6 separate regions of the Homo sapiens genome follow, and all the other regions are linked to region 3. The links are contacts of gene promoters, found by promoter capture Hi-C in blood cells and fetal thymus (Javierre and others, 2016). All regions are on one chromosome and are shown on one strand. Each heading gives the region's core, a stretch centred on a gene start or on the middle of the fragment in contact. The rest is flanking DNA. Distances are from core to core; before and after follow the strand shown.

Region 1 (3,353 bases), core at 261-2,760, 530 kb before region 3:
TATGGTGATGGTCTCATGGGTATATATATATATCAAAAACAACTCTCTCTCTCTCTCTCTCTCCAATCCCCCAACCCCATCTCTTACAACAAGAAAGTATGTCCCTAGTATATCTGGAAGCCATCTTTTGACCAAGAGAAAAGCCAGCATGAGGAAACTGTTAACACAGGGACAGAAGAAAAGAAAATGTCTCTGAAGGGAAGAGAGCCAGAATTGTGATTACATTAAACCTAAAGATTTTCAACGATGTGACCTGATGAAATTCCATAATGGTTAAGTCATTTTGAGTCATAATTTTACATCTTTTCACCTTAGGTGAAAAGCATCCTAACCAAGATAAGTATATGCTCAGCATTATATTGATAATTTATAATACGCCATTGGAAAAAAACTCTCTTCCTGGCATTTAATTATATTACTTATTTCAAAGAAAATGCAGTAAAAAACTGATCTGTATATCTACTGATATGTCTATCAGTAAAACAGATAAGTATATCTATGTATACCTACTATGCATAAGCCTTACAGGTGCTACATAGAGGTGATATCTGTTGTTTATACTCTTTGTCTTCCCTTCTTCCTTTTTTTGATAACAGTGCCCCAATTTACGCTTAGCTAACCATAATCTAGCATTACTAATTCATGTCTTCCAGATGAGATAGACCCTCCTTGTCACTAAAAGTAGACATGTGACTCACAGCATTGTAAGAAGATAGTAATGGAACACAGGTCCCCAAATTTACCCTCCCAATCTCTTCTCAATTACTTTCCCCAACAAGAAAAAATGCTACTGCAGGTAAGCAGGGGCATCTAAAGCAGGGTCACTTGAGGTCACAGGCTCCAGGGTCTCTAAAAGGAAAGAGATACTCTCACTCTTCTCTGTTTTAGGTAGTCTGGAGGGCCTTGTTATAGAAAGACTTAAAACAAAGGTCTCAATTTTATGGCTTCCAGTGAAAGTTAGCCTGAGGAAACCTATGAATGCCTTCAGGAAAGCATTACATGGGCTTATTTGTGTGTGTTCTTGGGAAGGTCAGACTAATCTGGGTAGTGACAGGTCATATGGAGGAACGCTGCACTCATGGAAGAGTTGCTTGTAGCCCCTGAGGTTAGGCAAGCATTCTCCCTTGCACCCAGGGAGCTCTGGGAGAAGAAAGACTTTTTTTAAAGCTTCAGCTGGGTGTGGACAGATTGCCAGTTGGTTTACTGCCAGCCCACAAAAGCAGAAACCTTTCCCCTGGCAGGTTTGCCACTGCATAAAAGACCCTAACTACTTGTCCTGTAATTATAGGTCAGTGTATACAGAGCCTGAGGTCTGAACAGGAAATGGAAAATAATAACTTGCCCTAGTAGTACTAGCAAGCCAGAGAGGAAAACTAAGATAAACACTTCAAACAGGTGTTTTGTTGAAATAGAACTGTTAGAAGAGCCAGGTGAAAACTTTTCTAAAAAGTAATAAATTCACTCAAGAAGATATAATTAAAGATTAGGAGTTAAATATATGATAGATGCTAGAATGATAAAATATACATATTTTAAAAATAGGTAATGACTCCATGTGTTTCTGACAGTATACCCTTCCTGGTTGAAATAACTAAAATGAAATAACTAATGGAAATAACTGAAATGCTACATAACATATTTTTAAAAATTAATACTGCTTAGCCGGCATGAAATTCAGGAATCTAAATATTTCCAAAACTGAAAAACTGGAGGGAATAGCTGAGAAATTGACTTAGTCTGTTTTGTGTTGCTATCACAGAAAACCACAGACTGGGTAATTTATAATGAAAAGAAATTTGTATCTCACAGTTCTGGAGGCTGGGAAGTCCAATATCAAGGTGCCAGCATCTTGTGAAAGCTTTCTTGCTACATCATCCCATAGTGAAAGGCAGAAGAGCAAAAGAGCAGACACTCAAGAGAGAAAGTAACCTACTCCTACAATAATGGCATTCATCCATTTATGGGGGTAGAGACCTCATGACCCAATCAGCTCTCAAAGGTCTCACCTCTCAACACTGTTGAATGGGGAGTTAAGTCCCAACACAGGAACTTTGGGGGACATGTTCAAACGATAACACTGCCTATCTAGTCCTTGTCACTGGACAGAAAAAGAAGAAATTCTCACCTGTGAATTCATAACCACTTACACTATATGTGATGATCAAAAGCACACAAGTAAAAAATTTTATTTAAGGTTTTTCCAAGTTAATAGTATACCAGATAACAGGCAAAAAGAAGCACAAATATTCCTTACTCAATTTTAACCTAAGCTTCAAATAATTTCCAGAGATTGTTTCAAGAAACGTAAGCAATTTATTATTTATAATTCAGTTGACATATTAAACAGCATATGAAATATAGCTGAAAAGAGAATTGATAAACTAGAAGGCAAATATAAAGAAATTATCCAGAATGAAATCCAAAGAGATAAGAGATATTAAAAGACACAGAGATTAGATTGAGAAGATCTAACATATACCTAATTTAAATTCCAGAAAACAAGTCTAGGGAAAATGAAAGAGAGGAAATGTTACAAAAGATAATGGACTAGGAATGTAACTGTTGAAACATCAAATCTTGAGACCCAGGGAGCCATATAACATGCTTCCAAAATCCAAGCTTATTATATTAATATACAAAAACATTAATATTAATATTATATATTAATGTTATTGTTAATATAATCATTATATTATTAAACATATAATTTATACATAAACAATATATTATATATAAATGTATATGATATATAATATACAATAGTTATAATATATAATAAATTATATATTGACTTCTATATAATATAGAATTATATAACTTATAAATTATATATAGCTTTATATATAAATCAATAATTATATATTGATGTGTACAATTATTATTTTATATTATTATTAATAATTATATAATTGGTATTATATAAATATTAATTTTATATTGCAATAGTTATAAAGTAAATATCATATAACATTATTAATATAATAAATATAGTATATTAATATTAATAACTTGTATTTATTAACAATATATTAATAAATGACATAATTTCACATTTCTTTCAGATTTCTGTAAAAGCTTATCAGGAGTTATATATATGCAAAACCATATTTATCTTATTAAAGAGGCATGTATAAGTGTCAGACCATCACTTATGAATAGATTTGACAGCCAGATATACAACCTTTCAGAAAACAGAAGCAAACCTCCTCCATAAAAACAAGTAATTGGCAGCTGTCTCAATGATGTCCAGTAACTAGCCTTATTTCACTCAGAACAGTTTTGTCGGCTTCATATAGCATGACCAATCACCCTGGTTTACTAGAGCCTGAGGGTTTCCTGCGCAAGGGACTCTC
Region 2 (3,560 bases), core at 273-2,772, 550 kb before region 3:
AAAATCCCAGCAAGACTTTTAATAGGTACAGAAAAAATTCTAAAATATAACAAAAATATAGAGGAACTAGATAAAAAAGGACAAATTATTCCAAAAATTATATATGGAAAGGCAAAATAATTAAAATAGCTAAAAAAAACTTTGAAAAAGAATTTTAAAAACGGGAAGAAACAGTCTACCTAATTCCGACATTTTATAGCTATAGTAATCAAGATTGTGAGTTATTGTAAGTAAGACAGATATATAGATAAAGGGAACAAAATAGAGAAACCAGAAATAAATTCATAAATTCACAGAAATATGCCCACTTGACTTTAGACAAACGTGCACAAGCAATTCAATAGAGAAAAGATAGTCTTTTTTTATTTTTGGACACAAAGTCTCACTCTTTCAGCCAGGCTGGAGTACAATGGCAGGATCATGGCTTACTGCAGCCTTAACCCCCCAGGCCCAAGCAATTCTCCCACCTCAGCCTCCTTAGTAGCTAGGAATACAGGCACACACCAACATGCCTGGCTATTTTTTAATTTGTTGAGAGACAGGGTCTCACTATGTTGCCCAGGCTGGTCTCAAACTCCTGGGTTCAAGCTATCCTCCCACCTTGGTATCCGAAAGTGTTGAGATTACAGGCATCAGCCACTGTGCCTGTCCTTAAGATAGCCTTTTCAATAAATTGTTCCAGAACAATTAGATATCCATAGGCCAAAAAAAAAAAAAAAAATGAACCTTGACCAAAGTTAAAAATTAACTCAAAGTGGATCATGCACTTGCATGTAAAATGTAAACTATAAAACTTAAAAAAAACACACACAGGGGAAAATCTTTGGGATCTAGGGTTAGGCAAAAAGTCCCTAGACTTGACACCAAAAATATGATCTATGAATGGAAAAAAATGATACATTGGACTTCATCAAAATATAAATCTTTGGCTCTAGAAAAGACTGAGTTAAGAGGATGAAAAGTCAAGCTACAGGCTGAGAGAATATATTTACAAATCACATGGCCACCAAAGGACTAGTATCTGGAATACAAAAAGAACTCTCAAAACTCAGTGTAAACACTCAATCCAATTAGAAATGAATGAAAGTCATAAATGGAAACTTCACTGAAGAGGATAAATAGATGGTAAGTAAGCACATGAAAATATGTGCAACTTCATCAGCCCTTAAGGCTGTGTGAACTAAAATCACAATGAAATACCACTGCATACCTATGAGAACAGCTAAAATAAAAAATAGTGACAACACCAAATACTAGTGAGGGTGTGAAGAAACTGGATCACTCAGGTGTCACTGCTTGGGATGTAAAATGGTACAGCCACTCTGGAAAGCAGTTTAGTAGTTTAGCAGTTTCTTTAAAAACTAAACATGCAACTACCCTATGATCTACCAATTACACTCCTGGGTATTTATTCCATATAAATGAAACTTTATGTTCACACAAACACCTGTAAAAGAATGTTTATAGAAGATTTATTTGCAATAGCCAAAAAGTAGAAACATCAGACATGGTGGCTCACACCTGTAATCTCAACCACTGGAGAGGCTGAGGCAGGAGGATTGCCTGAGGCTGGGAGAGATTTGTCTTGGCAACATAGCAAGACCGTGTCTCTAAATAGTTTTTTTAATTAGCAGGGTGTGGTGGTGTCTGTAGGACCAGCTACTTGGGAGACTGAGGTGAGAGGATTGCTTGAGCCTAGAAGTTCAAAGCTGTAGTAAACTACAATCATGGCAACCTGTATACTTCAACCTAGGCAACAGAGAGACATCTGGTCTCTAAAAAAACAAAAAAAGTAGAAACAGCTCAGATGTTCTTCAATGTGTAAATGGGTATACAAACTGGAACAGCTGTACCATAAAATACTACCCAGCAATAACAAAGAATGAACTGTTGATACACACAACCACCTGGATGAATCTCCAGGGATTTGTACTAAGTGAAAAAGAAACAATTCTGAAAGATCATACATTGTATAATTATATTCACATATCTGATGTAACAAAATTATAGAAGTGAAGAACAGATTAGTGACTGCTAAGGGTTAAAGAGGGATGGAAGAGGAAGAGAAGTGGGTGTAGCTGTGAAAGAGCATCAGGAGAGAGCCTGTAGTGATGGAAATGTTCTGTATCTTGAATGTATCAGTGTCAACATCCTGGCTATAATATTGTACTATAGTTTTGCAAAATATTACATTGAGGGAAACTAGGTGAAAGCTACACAAGATCTCTGTGTATTCTTCCTCACAGTTGTATGTGAATCTACAGTTGCGTCAAAATGAAACATAATTTTTTTAAAAAAGGGTAAGAAGGAAATATTATGAACACTTTTATGACTACAAATTCAATAACTTAGAGGAATTGGCAAATTTTTTTAAAGACATTAACTACCAATAATCACTCAAGAAAAATAGAGAGTATGAAGAGTGGAATATCTATTAAACTGAAATTATACTTTAAAATCTTTTAACAACAACCAAAAAATCCAGGTAAAGAGAGCTTCACTAGAGAAGTTTACTAAGCATTTGTAGAAAGAAAAAATAATGCAATATCTATACACAAACACACAGACATAAAAAAATGGAAGAGAGAAAAAATGGCAGATAGGAGTCAGAACTAACTTGCAGCTCTTACCCAGATGGACAGAACAGCATGTGGAGACTCATATTGTGAACTTTTACTCCAAGAGCTACTGCAGGAAGATACCAGGAATACTAAAAGAATTCACAGATCCTTTGAAAGAAGAGGCTTGCTGCTACAAACTCTGTGAGACAGCCAAAAAACTGTGAGTATCCAAAGTGTGAGAGAAGGAAAGTCCGCTTCCAAATACACATCCTCACTGGGAAACCTGAAAATCCAGATCATGGGAGTAGGATTTAACCTTACCTAGAGCTGAAACTAGAGAGCCAAGAGAAATAGAAACGTAAACAAAGCAGCAGGGAGAGCCCTGTAGGAACTCCCTGCTTCCAGGGAAGCCCAGGGAAGCCATTTCTGACTTTATCTCACAGGGGTCTTTTGGGAGGGCTCCCAGTGGAATTGGGGAAAGACCACAAGGAGAAGGAAACTTCCAGCTGACCTTCATAATAATTTCAGCCAAGCGTAAATTGTCCTGGGCAGACAGGAAGTGCAGACAGGAGCACAGAAGTCATGGCAGGTGAGGAGGGTTGGAGCCTGAAATCCCTGCTTGCTTTCTCAGCAAGGAGGCTTGTAGCCTGGGGCAAGATCTCAGTCTTACTCACTGGCTGCCTGGATATAAAATCAGTGCTGGTGGGGCATGGCGGGAGTGAGACGGGCCTTGCTGGCTGCATGGGAGCTGGGTGAGACCTGTCACTGCTGGCTTTCCTCTACTTCCCTGGTGACCTGTGTGATGTATGATGCAGGAGAGGCAGCCATAATTCCCTTGGAACATAACTCCATTGGCCTGAGAACCACACCTGCATCTCCTATTATAGCCATAGCAAGCCCTGCCCAAGGAGAGTCTGAGCTCAGACATACCTGACCCTGCCCTCAACAGATGGTCTTTCTCTACCTGCCTTGGTAGCCAAAGACAAAAGACATAATCTC
Region 3 (3,540 bases), core at 873-3,372:
TTGGAGTTGCCTTTACCTGTAGTGCGCTGATCCCAAATATTTCCATGGTTGGTTTTTAAAAATATCACTAAGCAATCAATCTAAACTAACCCCTCCCCCAGTCTTAAGGAAGACCTTTACAGTTTTACTTCTTCACTGTGCTTACTATTATCCAAAATTCCTTGCTCATATAGTTTACCTATTTTCTATCTTACACTCACTAGAATTTAAACTTCATAAGAACAGCGATCTTGCTAGTCTTTCTTACCATTGTATTCACAATGCCTAAAACAACGCCTGACAAAGTAGGATATTCTTTAAAAAATACTTAATGAATGCCTTTCCCTAAGCAAGTCACTTGACTTCTCTACTTAACTCACACTGGTGAGTTTACTACTGCTAGACTAAGCTCTGGATCCAGGAAAAACAAAAGTGGCTAAGGTATGGCTTCTTCAGAAGCTCATCCATTCATTCCCTCAAAAAATATTTATTGAACATATATTACACTATGTTCCAGGTACTATTCAATCTCAGTGTTTAGTAAACACCACAGTAACATGGGATTTGGTTAACCAACAGAAGTGTTTAAACAGGATGAGTACAAAAATAAGTACAAAATGAGAAGTACTATAAAAACGATACTTTATATGTTACAACTATAGCACCCACCTATTTCCTTGTGTCTAGTAATTGGCAGGACCTTATGACAAGAGCCAACTGAAAAACAGCAGTATAAATTCTGGTACTCTAAAAGCCCAGACTTCACCACTGTGCAATATATCCACACAACAAAACTGAACTTGTACTAACTAAATCTGTATAGAATTTTAAAAAGTAAGTTAAAAAAAATTCTGGTACTCACAGGGGACAATACCTATGAATGCCCTTTTCATAGGCACACAGTGACTAAAATATTTGGGGCATGAATTCTCTAGGGGTGACAATAATAAGTGTCATTTTTCATGCTTCTGTTGCACACATAATTATATTTATCTCTAAGGAAAATCAGAGAGTGGGGTGTGGCCTCCCTCAGTGCCACCTGGGCCAGTTGTCTCCCCACATCACCAAATCTGTTATTTCACAGGCTCTAGGACACCCATAGAGGGGGAGTGAGGGACCTGGTATGGTCCCGTGAAGAGCTCTTGTAACACTACTGATTGATGTGACAGACACAGTATGTGTGCAACTTTCCTTTTTCCTTCAAAAGCACTGGTCTAAAGCAGGGATCCCCAACCCCTGGGCAGCAGACAGGTACAGGTTTGTGGCCTATTAGGAACAGGCCACACAGCAGGTGAGCAGGGCTAGAGGATTATGCCTGAGCTCCAGCTCCTGTCAGATGAGCAAAGGCATTAGATTCTCATAGGAGCACAGACCTGATTATGAACTGCGCATGTGAGGGATCTAAATTGCGCCTTCTCAAGAGAATCTAATGCCTGATGATCTGAGATAGAAGAGTGTCATCCCATCTTGCCCCCCACCCCAAACTGTCTTCCATGAAACTGATCCCTGGTGCCAAAAAGGTTGGGGACTGCTGGAAGTGCTTGTCCCCTGGGTTAAAGCCAAGAGGAGTAAACAGGATTAAGGGGCGTGGATGTGGGTGGGTGGGGGAAGAGAGCTTTCTCAGGATCGGCAACCAATCCCAGAATCTCCAGTCGCAGGAGCATGTATGTGAAGGTTTATTTGCAGGGATCCACCGTTTGTAAAATAGTACACGCTTAATAAAATTAATTTTGAGGTCAATCTTAACTGACAGATCTCTTCTTTCTTACTGGCGAGTATTTGTAAAATAAGAAAAACAGGAGGAAAAGAGAACAAACAAGAGAGATGTGGGATGACGGAGTAAGGAAAGGAGTCACGGAGAGGAGAGACAATGTCTGTGGCTGTTCCCTCAGCGTCTGGGAGAAGAGCCCAAGAATCCCATTGAACTGAGGGGGAGGAAAGGCCCTCCTGCGGCCTACCGCAAGGAAACGATCGCGGCAGACCCGGGACTAGCGCCAAAGGGCTTGGAAGGGCGGCGTTAAGAAAAATGGGCCGTACCTACAACTTCTTTCGCAGCCCTCGCTGGCCCGGGAGCGGCCCAGGAGCCCAGTGACCGTTGCGTAAGCCACGCGCCACCCAGGTGGGCAGGGTGGTGACGCGAAAGCCCGGATAGACTTCCGCGCAGGGGCGGGGCGGGGCGAGGAGGCGGCAGCGCGTTTAAGTGACGTCTTGGCTGTCCGCGCCGGCAGAGGCGAGGGTTCTGGGGTTTCTGGGACTGTCTGGTGTGTTTTCTGTCTATTGAACCCTTTCCTTTCGACGTCTCTTCTGAATATTGACTCATCGGGTTGTAGAAATCCAGGGACAGAGTTGACATCACTGGGCATTTTAGCCAAAAAGCAGTGCTCGGGACTGCATGTGCCAGAAGTAAACTTGTCAAAACTCAGATTGTGTTTCCCCTAAAGTCAGCTTAAAGTGCAATGGTAGAAGAGCACGGTCTCTCCCCAAGACGGCCTGAGCTTAAACTGCAGCGCTGTCACTTGCTAGCTATGGGACCTAGGCAAATACATCGTCTCCCTGAGGTTGTCTTCTCATCTGTAAAGGACGCTGTGGTGGTGGTGTGAGAATAAATGAGACATGGCAAGTGTCTGGAACAAAGACGCTGTGTACAAAGTAAACACTTAATATACTGTTATCAGTATAAAACCTTTGTGAGTTTTTTTTTTTTTTCCGCATGAAATCTTATGTGGAAAGTTGTATGTGAAAGAAATGAAAGCGGAGCTGCGTTGATGGTGGGCCCAGAAGCTTTGGCCTTTCAGTCCCAAAGTTTCCAGTAATAGAATCCGCGCTTCCTATAAAAGACAAAAACAACTGTTATTGGAGAAAGTGTAAACTTCTTAGAAAGACAAACTGCCCTTTCCTATCTAATGTTTCTCCTGACACTCAATGTTTACTCTTGAACACTGTATTCCTTTTTGCCTCAGTGCGTTCTGTAAAGTTAATTCCTCTACCGGAGTGTTCTTTTTCTTAGTCATCATCTAAGATCTGATCCAAATTACCGTTCCTTCTTGGGTAACTTAAATACGAAATTATCTTTTTATTGGTTTTGTTGACGTTGTTGAGACAGGGTCTCACTCTATTACCCCGGCTGGAGTGCAGTGCGATCTAGGCTCCCTGCAGCCTCCTCCTCCTTGGTTCAAGCGATCCTCCTGCCTCCTGAGTAGCTGGGACTACAGGTGGGCACCACTACCCCCGGCTAATTTTTGTATTTTTAGTAGAGAGGAGTTTCACATATTGCCCAGGAGGACTTGAACTCCTGGACTTAAGTGATCTGCCCGTCTTGGCTTCCCACAGTACTGGGATTACAAGCGTGAGCCACCACAGCCCTGCCCTTTTTATTGTTTTTAACACCTTCCCTCCTTCAACGTGTTATAGACATCTCAGCAAGGATTTATTTTTCTTCCTCGTTTCAGGAGAGTAGACAGGGTTTCATGATTATAGGGTTAAGGAAATGTTTTGTACTCATGAAAAGGAAATGTTTTGTACTCACAGGAAAAGCAGGTAGATCCCTAAAGATAATGGGAG
Region 4 (3,244 bases), core at 416-2,915, 610 kb before region 3:
TTTTTGTGGCAGAGGTAGATATCAGGAAAGGAACTAGAGAAAGTTGGAAGTGTGAACACCATATGCCCAATAACTATTGAATGGATGAGCAAATTGTGGTACATCCACACAGTAGCATACCTGACAACAGTAAGAATGAACTACTGATACAGGCAACATCATGGATGAATCTCAAAAACATTATGCTCGCTGGACACAGTGGCTCATGCCTGTAATCCCAGCACATTGGGAGGCTGAGGAGGGAGGATTGCTTAAGTCCAGGAGTTAGACACCAGACAGGGCACTATAGTGAGAACATTTCTCTACAAAAAATTAGCCAAGTTAGTGGTGCATGCCTGTAGTCCCAGCTATTCAGGAGGCTGAGGTGAAAGGATCACTTGAGCCTGGGAGGCAGAGGTTGCCATGAGCCAAGATCAGGCCACTGCACTCCAGCCTGGGCAACAGATTGAGACTCTGTCTCAAAAACAAAATACAGAAACATTATGCTAAGTGCAGTATGCTGGATGTAGAAGACTACATAATGAATAATTCAATTTATATGAAATTATTTTAAAGACACAACTATAGTGACAGAAAACAAATCAGCAGATGTTGGGGCCGGGGGCAGGAGGAGGGGATAGACTGCAAGGTGACATAGGAACATTTTTGCAGAGTAATGTTCTAGATTACAATTGTAGTGCTTATATGACTATATAAGTCTGTCAAAAGCCATTGAATTGTACATACTCTTAAAAATTGGTAAAATTTATCATATATATTGCATTGTATTATGCCTTAATAAAGCTGACTTTTAAAAATGAATGAGTCCAATTTTGCTATATATACACAGGGCATAGGAAAGGCAGGAAGAGGTTTCTGGAGGAGACTGCAGATAGAGACAACCAAAGACAGGGAAACATAAAACAACATCAGGGAGAAGAAGGGGTTATAAGTGGTTCATTATTTCTGGAGCCGAAGTGAAAGAGTGAGGAGGACTGAGACCAGAATTAGATTATGGAAGACTTTATGGCCATTCTCATCTTCCTGTAAAAAGTGTAGCTTTGGCCTTCAACAGGAAACAGCAAAAAGAGAAAAACACACTCTCCTAATCGATGACAATATGAGATGCTCTTGAGGTAGCTTAAGTCAGATATTTACCTGGAATAAATAAATATAATTATTTACATTGTAAAATCTAAAGTGCTAGCAAGATTATTTCTCAGCAATGATGTTGGCTCCCAAGAGCACTCCAGAAAATATTCTATTTTGAATTAGAGGCAAATTCACTCTACCAAAATTTAGCAATGTCCTGACTATACACTAGCCCCACAAAGTGGTCATTTGCCCCCTAGCCAAGCCAAATTAAAAGTTTGTGACACTTTTACAACTAAATAATTTGAAAAAGTGAATTATCCATGATTAGTAGAAAAAAATGAAAATAGTGTTTTACCTAAGCATGAGAGAATAGGACAAAATAAGAAAAGTAGATTAGGACATAAAAAGAAGCTAAAATGAATAATTTTGTAAGAAAATAACCTGCCTCAACCACAGCTTTTGTCAAAGGGCTTCCCTCAGTTAATCGATATCTGAGTCTACCTATCTTGAGAGAAAGTGGCTCTTTTGCCCTCTATTACAAGAGCTGACCCAAAGAGACTCAGGGTCAGGGCTTGTCCTATACTCTGGGCCAGGTCACAATAACCAACCCTCACCCCAATACACACACACACACACACACACACACACTTTTTTGGTGTACATACCTTGCCCATGTGCTTCACCAGACATGCCTCCTGCTTCCTCCTCTAGCTCCAGAAAGCCTGTGTGTAAGCTCTGGCATCTGTCTCCTCACAGGAAAGAAAACCACTTGAAAGACATTATAGGAGCCTCATTTTACTTTCTGGGAAATTAATATAAAAGATCCATAGGTTTTAGAGATAGACTCCAATTTGGAGATGGATGCAGTAATAAAAACAACAAAAGATCACACAAATGTCACTTGTCTTCACAGTTAATACTTCCTCCTCTCCCTCTCCTCCCTTCCACTCTCTCTGTCTCTCTCTCCCTCCCTGCCCCCTCCTCTTTTGCTTGCATAGCTCCTTCACTTTATACCCATGCAGATAGAGTTGCCCAAATCAGCAAAGCAACTGTATCTGAAGTATCATGGGATAGATCTACCTCCATGTCAATATGCAGATTGTCTTGTCTTACCCTTCACACTGGAAGAATGATGATGATATTAATATTAGTAATTATAACAATAATATTTCCACTCATTAAACAACTACAACTCACCAGGCAGTCAACATTGCTAGTCCTTATAATCACCTGCAGAGCAGATGCTGCAATTATCTTTTTACAGATGAAGCACTGAGACTCATAGAGATAAAATAAGGTGCCCAAGGTCCAGTAAGGTGATAGTTGCAGAATGAAGATTGAAACGTTGATCAGTCTAACTCCAAATCTTATACTTTTTCCATAAAACACTGATGAAAAGTAAGGTGAGAAGGAAGGAAAGAACAAGAAGTCTGTTCTGTGTCCAGACATATTCAGGACCACATAGCTCCAAAGTTAGAGAAGCAAGTGCTGATGAACAAGACTTCAGAAAAATATCTATGTTCTATTCATATTCCACCAGTATTAAACCTGGCCACTGGAGAAGACAGTGTGGCGATTCCTCAAGGATCTAGAACTAGAAATACCATATGACCCAGCCATCCCATTACTGGATATATACCCAAAGGATTATAAATCATGCTGCTATAAAGACACATGCACGCATATGTTTATTGTGGCACTATTCACAATAGCAAAGACTTGGAACCGACCCAAATGTCCATCAATGATAGACTGGATTAAGAAAATGTGACACATACACACTATGCAGCCATAAAAAAGGATGAGTTCACGTCCTTTGTAGGGACATGGGTGAAGCTGGAAACCATCATTTTTAGCAAACTATCACAAGGACAAAAAAACAAACACCGCACGTTCTCACTCACAGGTGGGAATTGAACCATGAGAACACTTGGACACAGGAAGGGGAACATCACACACTGGGGCCTGTCATGGGGTGGGGGGAGGGGGAGGGATAGCATTAGGAGATATAACTAATGTAAATGACGAGTTAATGGGTGCAGCACACCAACATGGTTCATGTATACATATGTTAACAAACCTGCACGTTGTGCACATGTACCATAGAACTTAAAATACAATAAATAAATTTTAAAAAGAAAAAATAAAAGAAAAAATCTTATCCAGTAAA
Region 5 (3,699 bases), core at 253-2,752, 630 kb before region 3:
TCCTATGACACAGAACTATGAGCATATGTTCACAGACCAGATTCTCCTAGTAATACCTTTAGAGTATGGTTCACTGAGAAATCAATGACATGATAATGGAGTTCTGTCAGAGGAGGCAGGTGATGTTACTCACCAGAAATCCCAAATAGGTACTCACTGCTCCTCAACAAGTAAAGGCTCAGAACTTCCAGATCCAGTACTGTGGTCCACTGCCTCTTCTACAGATGCTCTTCTCTGCCCCAGGCCCACAGTATCTCAAGGTTACTGTGGCTTAGATAGCATTTACCTTTATATCTGAAAGAGAGTAGAGAATGAGGGGACATTTGTGTTGAGGTCCAGGAATCAGACCCATCTGGGTGTTATGGGTTATTTTATGATTACTGGAAACAAAAAAGATTTCCTTGGCACACAATATTCAGGGGGAATTCCTGATTCCTCCATCCAGCTAAATTCTCTTTCCATCGAACTAAAGCAAGTGGGGACTCCTGGAATAATGCAAGGCTTTGATGGCAAAGTCCCTGAACACGGGGAGGGGAGTCACACACATCCCTCTCTTCCTCTCAATTTCAGGACAAGGAAGGATAAGTCCACATTCTTCCTATCAAACTCTCACTAGAGATTAGAAATAGAGACTTTGAACTGTGCCTTGGGCATCTCCTCAGGCACTGGAGCAGATGTAGCTCTGAGAAGAAAACAGCATGGCCGCATCCTTTTATCCAGCTCCTGCTCTATAAATTGGCAAAGGGAACTCATCTTTTATTCTAGTTCTATATAATTTACTCCAAATTAAGGAGGAATTCTTAATTATAAATGTTAAGCAGAAGTTGCAAATATGTAAGTTTAATGCCTCTGTTTAAGAGAGGCATTAATAAGAGAAGATTGATCTTTCTTCTAAGGGTACTGGTCTTTCAAGAGAAAAGTAATCTTACACAATTGATAGAAGAGGTTAGTGCTATGATAAAATTTAATACATCCATTGTGCACCATTGAAATTATTTGACTTCACTCACTGACTGCTGTTTCTGCTAAATTGATATCTTAGATCTAAGAGTGATTTGCCATATTCTAGATAGGACTAAGCGGCCTGGTGCAAAATAACCCTGAAGTGTTCACGACTGACCCCTCAGCCCAGACAAAATCATGGAGATGCAGACCACACACCAAATTGAAGCTGAAAACGTGAGATACCTGGGATTATCACAGCCATCCAGAGAGCATCCTTCTCCATACACATAAATTAAGGCATGTGCCCTATGCCCTTTCTCCAATATGATTTTCCTCTAATCCTTGGAACCACTAGAAGAACACTAACTGCCTGACTCTCCTATTCTCCTGACAATACCACAGATGAATTAGGAACCCATTTTCCTAATTCTCTGTGTGTTGGTTTGTTTGGACAGTTACTCTAGTGAAATCGAGTCTTCACAACAAAAGATAGAGGACCCAGACTAAGCAACTTGCCTAAACCTGAGGACTAGAGTCACTTTTATCATGGCTCATTGACATGATACATTGACATATAACGCTCTCCTGAGACAGTTACACTCCCACCTTCTCCCTCTATTCCTATTCCTGGTTATTCCAAACCTCTCCTTCTCCTGTTCTTCACCTTCCAGATGTACTGGTTAGCATCTTCTCCTCATGGCTGAGAAACAATGGCTTACTATCCTGTTTGCCAATCCTTGTTCCACCTTCCTTCAAGTCTTTCTTCCTCATTCAGAGAATGAATATTATTGCTTCTCAGTTTTTTGGCTAAGATTAAGTGAGAATGAATGAGTGAATATTAATTTTATCTTGTGATTAAGTGAGAATGAATGAGTGAATATTAATTTTGTCTTGTACTTATTGTAGTAACTTCTATATAAAATTTTAAAGAGGACAACATTTCTGTCTCAACACCGTCTTGCCTTTCGCAACCTTTCAGACAAACATCTCAGGCTTCCATATTTTCCCTATTGTCTGCTCTAACGTAACATGATTTCCAGGAAAGATAATAAATTGCTCACTGTAAGGTAAAAGGTTGCAAAGTTTATGCCTTTCCAAAGAGATTTGCTTTAACACAGGACCAAAATTTCAATTTCCAATTCTGGAAATGCAAAATCAGTAAGAAATCTTGGAGAAGGACAATTTTCTGGTATCCTTTAAATTATACCCCTACAAACATTGTGTTCAAATAACAACTCACTCATGGTTCATAAAATCATTTTCATGGATTAATATCAGTTTATTTTTTAATAGAATGGAAGGAAACAAATATCAATGTACATCAATTAGAGTAAGCGTAAACTTTTTTTTAGAATTTTCATTTCCGTTTTTTATAAATGTACAACATATATATGTATATGTAATTATAAGCAAAATATATAAATGCATTTCTTGTTATGATCATCATCAAAAAGTTTGAAAGTTACCTGCCCCTCACCCCTAGATCATGTTACCAAATGCTTTTGATTCCTCTTGTGCAACTTCACTAACATGCATCCCTGCTTTTCCATCCCCATCACTGTCCACATAGGTCAGATTATTCATTTCCGTTCTGAAGTTCTACAATAATCACAAAGCCTACATAACTGCTGTCTCTTACATTTTTCTGGGTGTTTACAGTCTCTAAGTCAAATTATTTCCTAATTCAAACTCTGAAATCTGTGCAAGACAAAAATCTGAATTCCTGTGCCTAGCCCTCAACCATCTGGCCCATTTTTACCTTGCCAAACCTTATCTCCTGCAGTTACCCAACTTGCCTCCAGGCATTCTTCTCTTTTCTGCACCAGATCTCTGCTCAAACCATCCTCCTCCCACTCTTTAGCTTGAAATGGCTCCCTTGCCTCATCTTCACGGCATCTTATCAGTCCCTGAATCCTTCAAGTCTCAGCCCCCTTCCCATGTCCTTCATCCCCCAGTGAATGCATTCACTGACCACCCCATACTTCTGAGAAAGCCTTAAATCTTATTATTTTTAACCTTTTCACTGGTGCACATTATTGGTGTACTCATATTTTCTGTTACTTTCTACATTCTTATCTTACCTTTCCAAGGAGATTTTAAGTTCCTTAAAAGAAAATATATCTTAAGTTTTTCTAGCTTGTTGCACTTAGAGCAAAGGTCCTCCATAAAAATGTTTTGATTGATTTTTCCTACTGTACACATGATGCTAAGGTCACTGTGACCCAATAGTTGAAAAATTGGCCATTAATTTTAAAAATACATACTATTGTGCTTATTTTTTATTTTCCATCTTATTTCGTTTTCTAAACTAATAGTTATTATCCTTAAATCACTTCTGAGCAATTAATTTTAACTTTTTAACCAACTGTACTACTACTACTAATAATAATAATACTCATTTTTCTTTCTTCAACCCTCTCTGCAGGAAGTTTTAATGTGAAAAATAATTTAAGTCATTAAAACAATAAATACTCTGAATTGAGGTGTAATGGGTGACCTTTATGATAGTTTCTTCTCACTAGAGAGATTGACTCACAAGTTACATAAATACTTAGAAAAGATATCTATGGGGGAATTCAAACATCAGATAATGATTGAACTTTTTGAATTTACCATTTCAACCTTGAAATCCTGTAATTCTAAATTCCACTTGCTGAGTAAGTAGATTCTGAACAACCAAAAGTTGCCTGTTCCCTCCTTGCCACCTCACCTCTGAAATATGCCCTGTAATTTACTTACATTCACAATGGTTCA
Region 6 (3,420 bases), core at 189-2,688, 680 kb before region 3:
CAGGAAAGGTCCAAGGAAGATAATGAGTTAAGAAGTGGTTGAGCAAAAGCTTATGGGAATCCATAGAGCAGTGAGTAGTTTAGTTTAGTGGGTGCTAGGTCTGGAGAGGTAGGTTGACACAGGAGGATCAGGCCTTAAATGCTAGGCTCAAGATTTAGAGTTTGCCAGCTGAGACAGTTCATGGAGGCTTTTTGAAAGAGTGTTGCTTTGAGAAGACTGAATATGAACTGAAAAAGGTTAAAAACAGAACTTGGTTACCAGTAGAAATGTGAGAAGAAAAAAACTATGTGCACTACAGGAGATGGGCTGCAAGATATATATCAAAAAATATATATCAGAAGAAGAAATTCTGAATGGAGGCATTTCCAGCAGCTCAGTGTGATAATTTAGAAAATAGGATCTTCCTTTTATCAGGCTGTTTAACCACTATCTACACATAAGAACTTGAAAATACAGTGTTTGAAAGAGGAAATGAGGAAAAGGAACATTTGAAGAATGAGAAAGGAACAGCTGAACAAACAAAAGGCAGCACTGAGGCCATTCTTAAATGTCCTAGATTAATAACCCAGGGGTATCCAGATATTTGGGGCTTCCCTGTGTATTCTAGGAACTCCCCTCAATAGATCAGACCTTTATCCAGAAATGAGGGCCCCAGAGACCTATTTGGCTAAAAGGGCTCCCTCTTCTTTGTTGTTTTGGTCACTGCTTCTACCTAACTCTTCGCACTGTCAGTAGCTATAAGAAGCAAAACTATTGGCTCAATTGTTCTACTGTCTACAGTTTGAACTCTGACCTCTTTGATATCCCAAAGCAACAAGCTAATTTAGTAGTCCTTACTTAAGGATACGAAGAAAAATATTTAGAAAACCTTCCAAAATTGTCTAACAAATCTCCAGAGTTCATTAGTCTATTACCTGAGAAAAGCTGACCTAATAAATATCACAGCCCTCAACCAAAAGAACAATGTTATTTGAAAACTAAATCTTGTAGAAGATTCAATAAATTCCTGGACCTTGAAACAAATTTTATCTTCTTAGCCTTTTTCAAAGCCAAAAACCAGTGTCTCACAATAGACATGTGCATTGTTTATTCCACCCTGTGAGGAAACTGAAGTTGTATTCCTCAGGGTATGTAAGCATTAATGACCCTAAAATTTTACTCCAGAATTGGGTGGTTTCACACTGGAGCATACATGAATGTTGTGGGCTCAAGTCCATCACTTACCAGCAAATCAATGGATTCTTTTAGATTGGTATTTCATTTGTCATCATTTAACCAATGATTATTGTCATCATTAGGACTTTTTAGAACATCAGGCAAGGTACCGTGGCTCATGCCTGTAATCCCAGCACTTTGGGAGACCGAGGCCGGCGGATCACCTGAGGTCGGGAGTTTGAGACCAGACTGACCAACAGGGAGAAACCTCATCTCTACTAAAAATACAAATTAGCCCGGTGTGGTGGCACACGCCTGTAATCCCAGCTACCTGGAAGGCTGAGGCAGGAGAATTGCTTGAACCCAGAGGGGGAGGTTGTGGTGAACTGAGATCGTGCCATTGCACTCCAGCCTGAGCAACAAGAGTAAAACTCAGTCTCAAAAAAAAAGCAAGAACATCAAAGAGATGTTTGTTAGGCTTATTAAGTGGTAAATTTTCCTTGGCTTCCTTTTCTTTCCAAGGTAATTATGGGCTTCTTCCTGTCTCTTTTTGATGCCCACAGAGGCCATAATGAGGGCAGTTAAATATGCAAACATGAGAATGAGAAAACAGGTGTCAAGATACATATAATTTTACCTATTGAGACATCCTGCCTGCTAATAAACAGAGAATCGTATTACTGGTACACTTAACCAATTTTCCTAAATAATTTAGGCATGTTTTCCAATGTCTTTGCAAAGGTGATGTGGGGAGGTCTTTTGCCCCTTTAAAATTCATCAACACCTCCAGACACTGCAAGATAAGGAGGTCATGCAAGTCAAAACAATGTGTGGGCTACAGATATGCAGCTTCAAGTCAATCCTCTAAACTTCTTTCCAAGCACGTGACCATACCTACCTGGAAATACTGGAGTCAGCTCAGTTGTTTCCCCTATTTGATAAGAAAAGAATGCAACTAGCCAGCAAACACTTTATTTTCTTAAATATTAGCATAATTTGTGGGCATTTCCATTTTTCCAACACATCATTTCTCAGATATTACCCCAGATAAAATACCATGCCCAGAACTGGAATTATAGACAATTTACTAAAGAACATGCATAAGGGGACCACAAAACCCTTCTAGATCAAAGAGAGACCACCTCTGACATGCCATGGCATCAGAAAGTTCTACTTTTCTTAAGAGCCATATACTTTAATTGTGGTAAGATATTTCTAACAAAAAGATCAATCTACGTATAATGTTATTAACATGGAATTTATTTGATTACAGTTTCCCTAACTGTAATCTAAAGTCATATTCATTAGGAAACGCCAAATTTCCAAGAGCAGAGTATAATATGCAGCATTTCCCAAACATCTTGGACCCCAAAAACTTCTTGTAACAAACTAACATCGTCCAAAAATGACAAACGATATGGAAAATACCGTATTCTACCCTCCAATATCAGCTGTCAGTGGGACAGGAGTAAAGGAAAACAAGTCAAAGCACTGAGTTAACTGAGTTTTAAAAGACGGAGAGCAGTTTTGGAAGGATGCAGAAACTACACTTTGTCTACTTAACAATTTTAAGAACTACCCAATCACAGAGTATTTATTATAGAAATAATTAGGAATAATTTGATTTTATGTTTACAAAGAGGTATGATGTTTAACTGCTCCTACGTAGTTTGAAGCTTGTTCTTAAACCCAAGGTATTGCCAAATGCCTAGTAGTACCCTGTTTATTACTGAAAAAATTTTTTTAATCATTTTGGATAAATACTAGAATCAAATATTTGACCTGACATATGACAAGGAACTAACAATATAAGCCTAGTCTACCACCATCTGGATGACCAAATTAGAATCTTAGTCTCAAGGCCGCCCCTGTTTCAGCCCTGAATGCCTCATGTAATGTACACAGGAGCCAGAACTACATTATATCTCGTTTTCAAATAGCACTGGTTACGCACCGGGCAACTGTTAACCAGGGTGGCATGTGATAATCTTCCTTGCTAACCTTGTAGGAAGTGTGCGAGCCGTTATCTTTCTGGCAAGATTTAAGTAACTCATTCCTATCTAAAAAGCATCTGTTAAAGTGGCGTCACACCCTCAACTACTTCATAAAGTTTTCTATAAAATGTTAAAATCACCAGAGTCGGACCTCTCAGTTCATCAGGCGTAAAACTGCAGTTTCCGGCTGCCAAATCCCTTAACAACGTTAACCTTTTAATCCTTCAGCCTCGTCTAGTGAAAAGCAAGTGTCACCAGATACCGCCTTCTA

The links. The method cuts DNA at HindIII sites, captures the fragments that hold promoters and counts their contacts. A CHiCAGO score of 5 or more calls a contact.
Region 1: a fragment that was not itself captured here is called in contact with the fragment with the promoter of SLC9B1 in region 3 in 13 of 17 cell types (activated CD4 T cells, total CD8 T cells, naive B cells and 10 more); the score reaches 10.3 in activated CD4 T cells.
Region 2: a fragment that was not itself captured here is called in contact with the fragment with the promoter of SLC9B1 in region 3 in 9 of 17 cell types (total CD4 T cells, activated CD4 T cells, naive CD4 T cells and 6 more); the score reaches 10.4 in total CD4 T cells.
Region 4: a contact is called between a fragment that was not itself captured here and the fragment with the promoter of SLC9B1 in region 3, in 14 of 17 cell types (activated CD4 T cells, total CD4 T cells, non-activated CD4 T cells and 11 more). The highest score is 13.9, in activated CD4 T cells.
Region 5: a fragment that was not itself captured here is called in contact with the fragment with the promoter of SLC9B1 in region 3 in 7 of 17 cell types (total CD8 T cells, non-activated CD4 T cells, total CD4 T cells and 4 more); the score reaches 10.1 in total CD8 T cells.
Region 6: a fragment that was not itself captured here is called in contact with the fragment with the promoter of SLC9B1 in region 3 in 17 of 17 cell types (non-activated CD4 T cells, naive CD4 T cells, erythroblasts and 14 more); the score reaches 24.0 in non-activated CD4 T cells.

The regions. Positions count from the first base shown.
Region 1 is chr4:102,492,797-102,496,149 of GRCh38, forward strand. All of the region lies in intron 1 of NFKB1-AS1 (NFKB1 antisense RNA 1), which reads right to left. Among named protein-coding and RNA genes, the nearest start is that of NFKB1, 6.9 kb to the right of the region's middle. The HindIII fragment of the contact is 691 bases long and covers 1,166-1,856 here.
Region 2 is chr4:102,472,081-102,475,640 of GRCh38, forward strand. All of the region lies in intron 1 of NFKB1-AS1 (NFKB1 antisense RNA 1), which reads right to left. Among named protein-coding and RNA genes, the nearest start is that of NFKB1, 27 kb to the right of the region's middle. The HindIII fragment of the contact is 7,143 bases long and covers 1-3,560 here.
Region 3 is chr4:103,017,583-103,021,122 of GRCh38, forward strand. SLC9B1 (solute carrier family 9 member B1) reads right to left here and starts at 2,123. Exons shown (of 12, transcript NM_139173.4): 1 at 2,017-2,123. It also overlaps a transcript of SLC9B2 not described here. RefSeq lists an enhancer at 1,964-2,464. The HindIII fragment of the contact is 6,332 bases long and covers 1-2,758 here.
Region 4 is chr4:102,412,078-102,415,321 of GRCh38, forward strand. No RefSeq gene overlaps it. Among named protein-coding and RNA genes, the nearest start is that of SLC39A8, 68 kb to the left of the region's middle. The HindIII fragment of the contact is 4,802 bases long and covers 1-3,244 here.
Region 5 is chr4:102,385,217-102,388,915 of GRCh38, forward strand. No RefSeq gene overlaps it. Among named protein-coding and RNA genes, the nearest start is that of SLC39A8, 42 kb to the left of the region's middle. The HindIII fragment of the contact is 4,429 bases long and covers 1-3,699 here.
Region 6 is chr4:102,340,904-102,344,323 of GRCh38, forward strand. All of the region lies in intron 2 of SLC39A8 (solute carrier family 39 member 8), which reads right to left. Among named protein-coding and RNA genes, the nearest start is that of SLC39A8, 2.9 kb to the right of the region's middle. RefSeq lists an enhancer at 3,102-3,161. The HindIII fragment of the contact is 2,782 bases long and covers 48-2,829 here.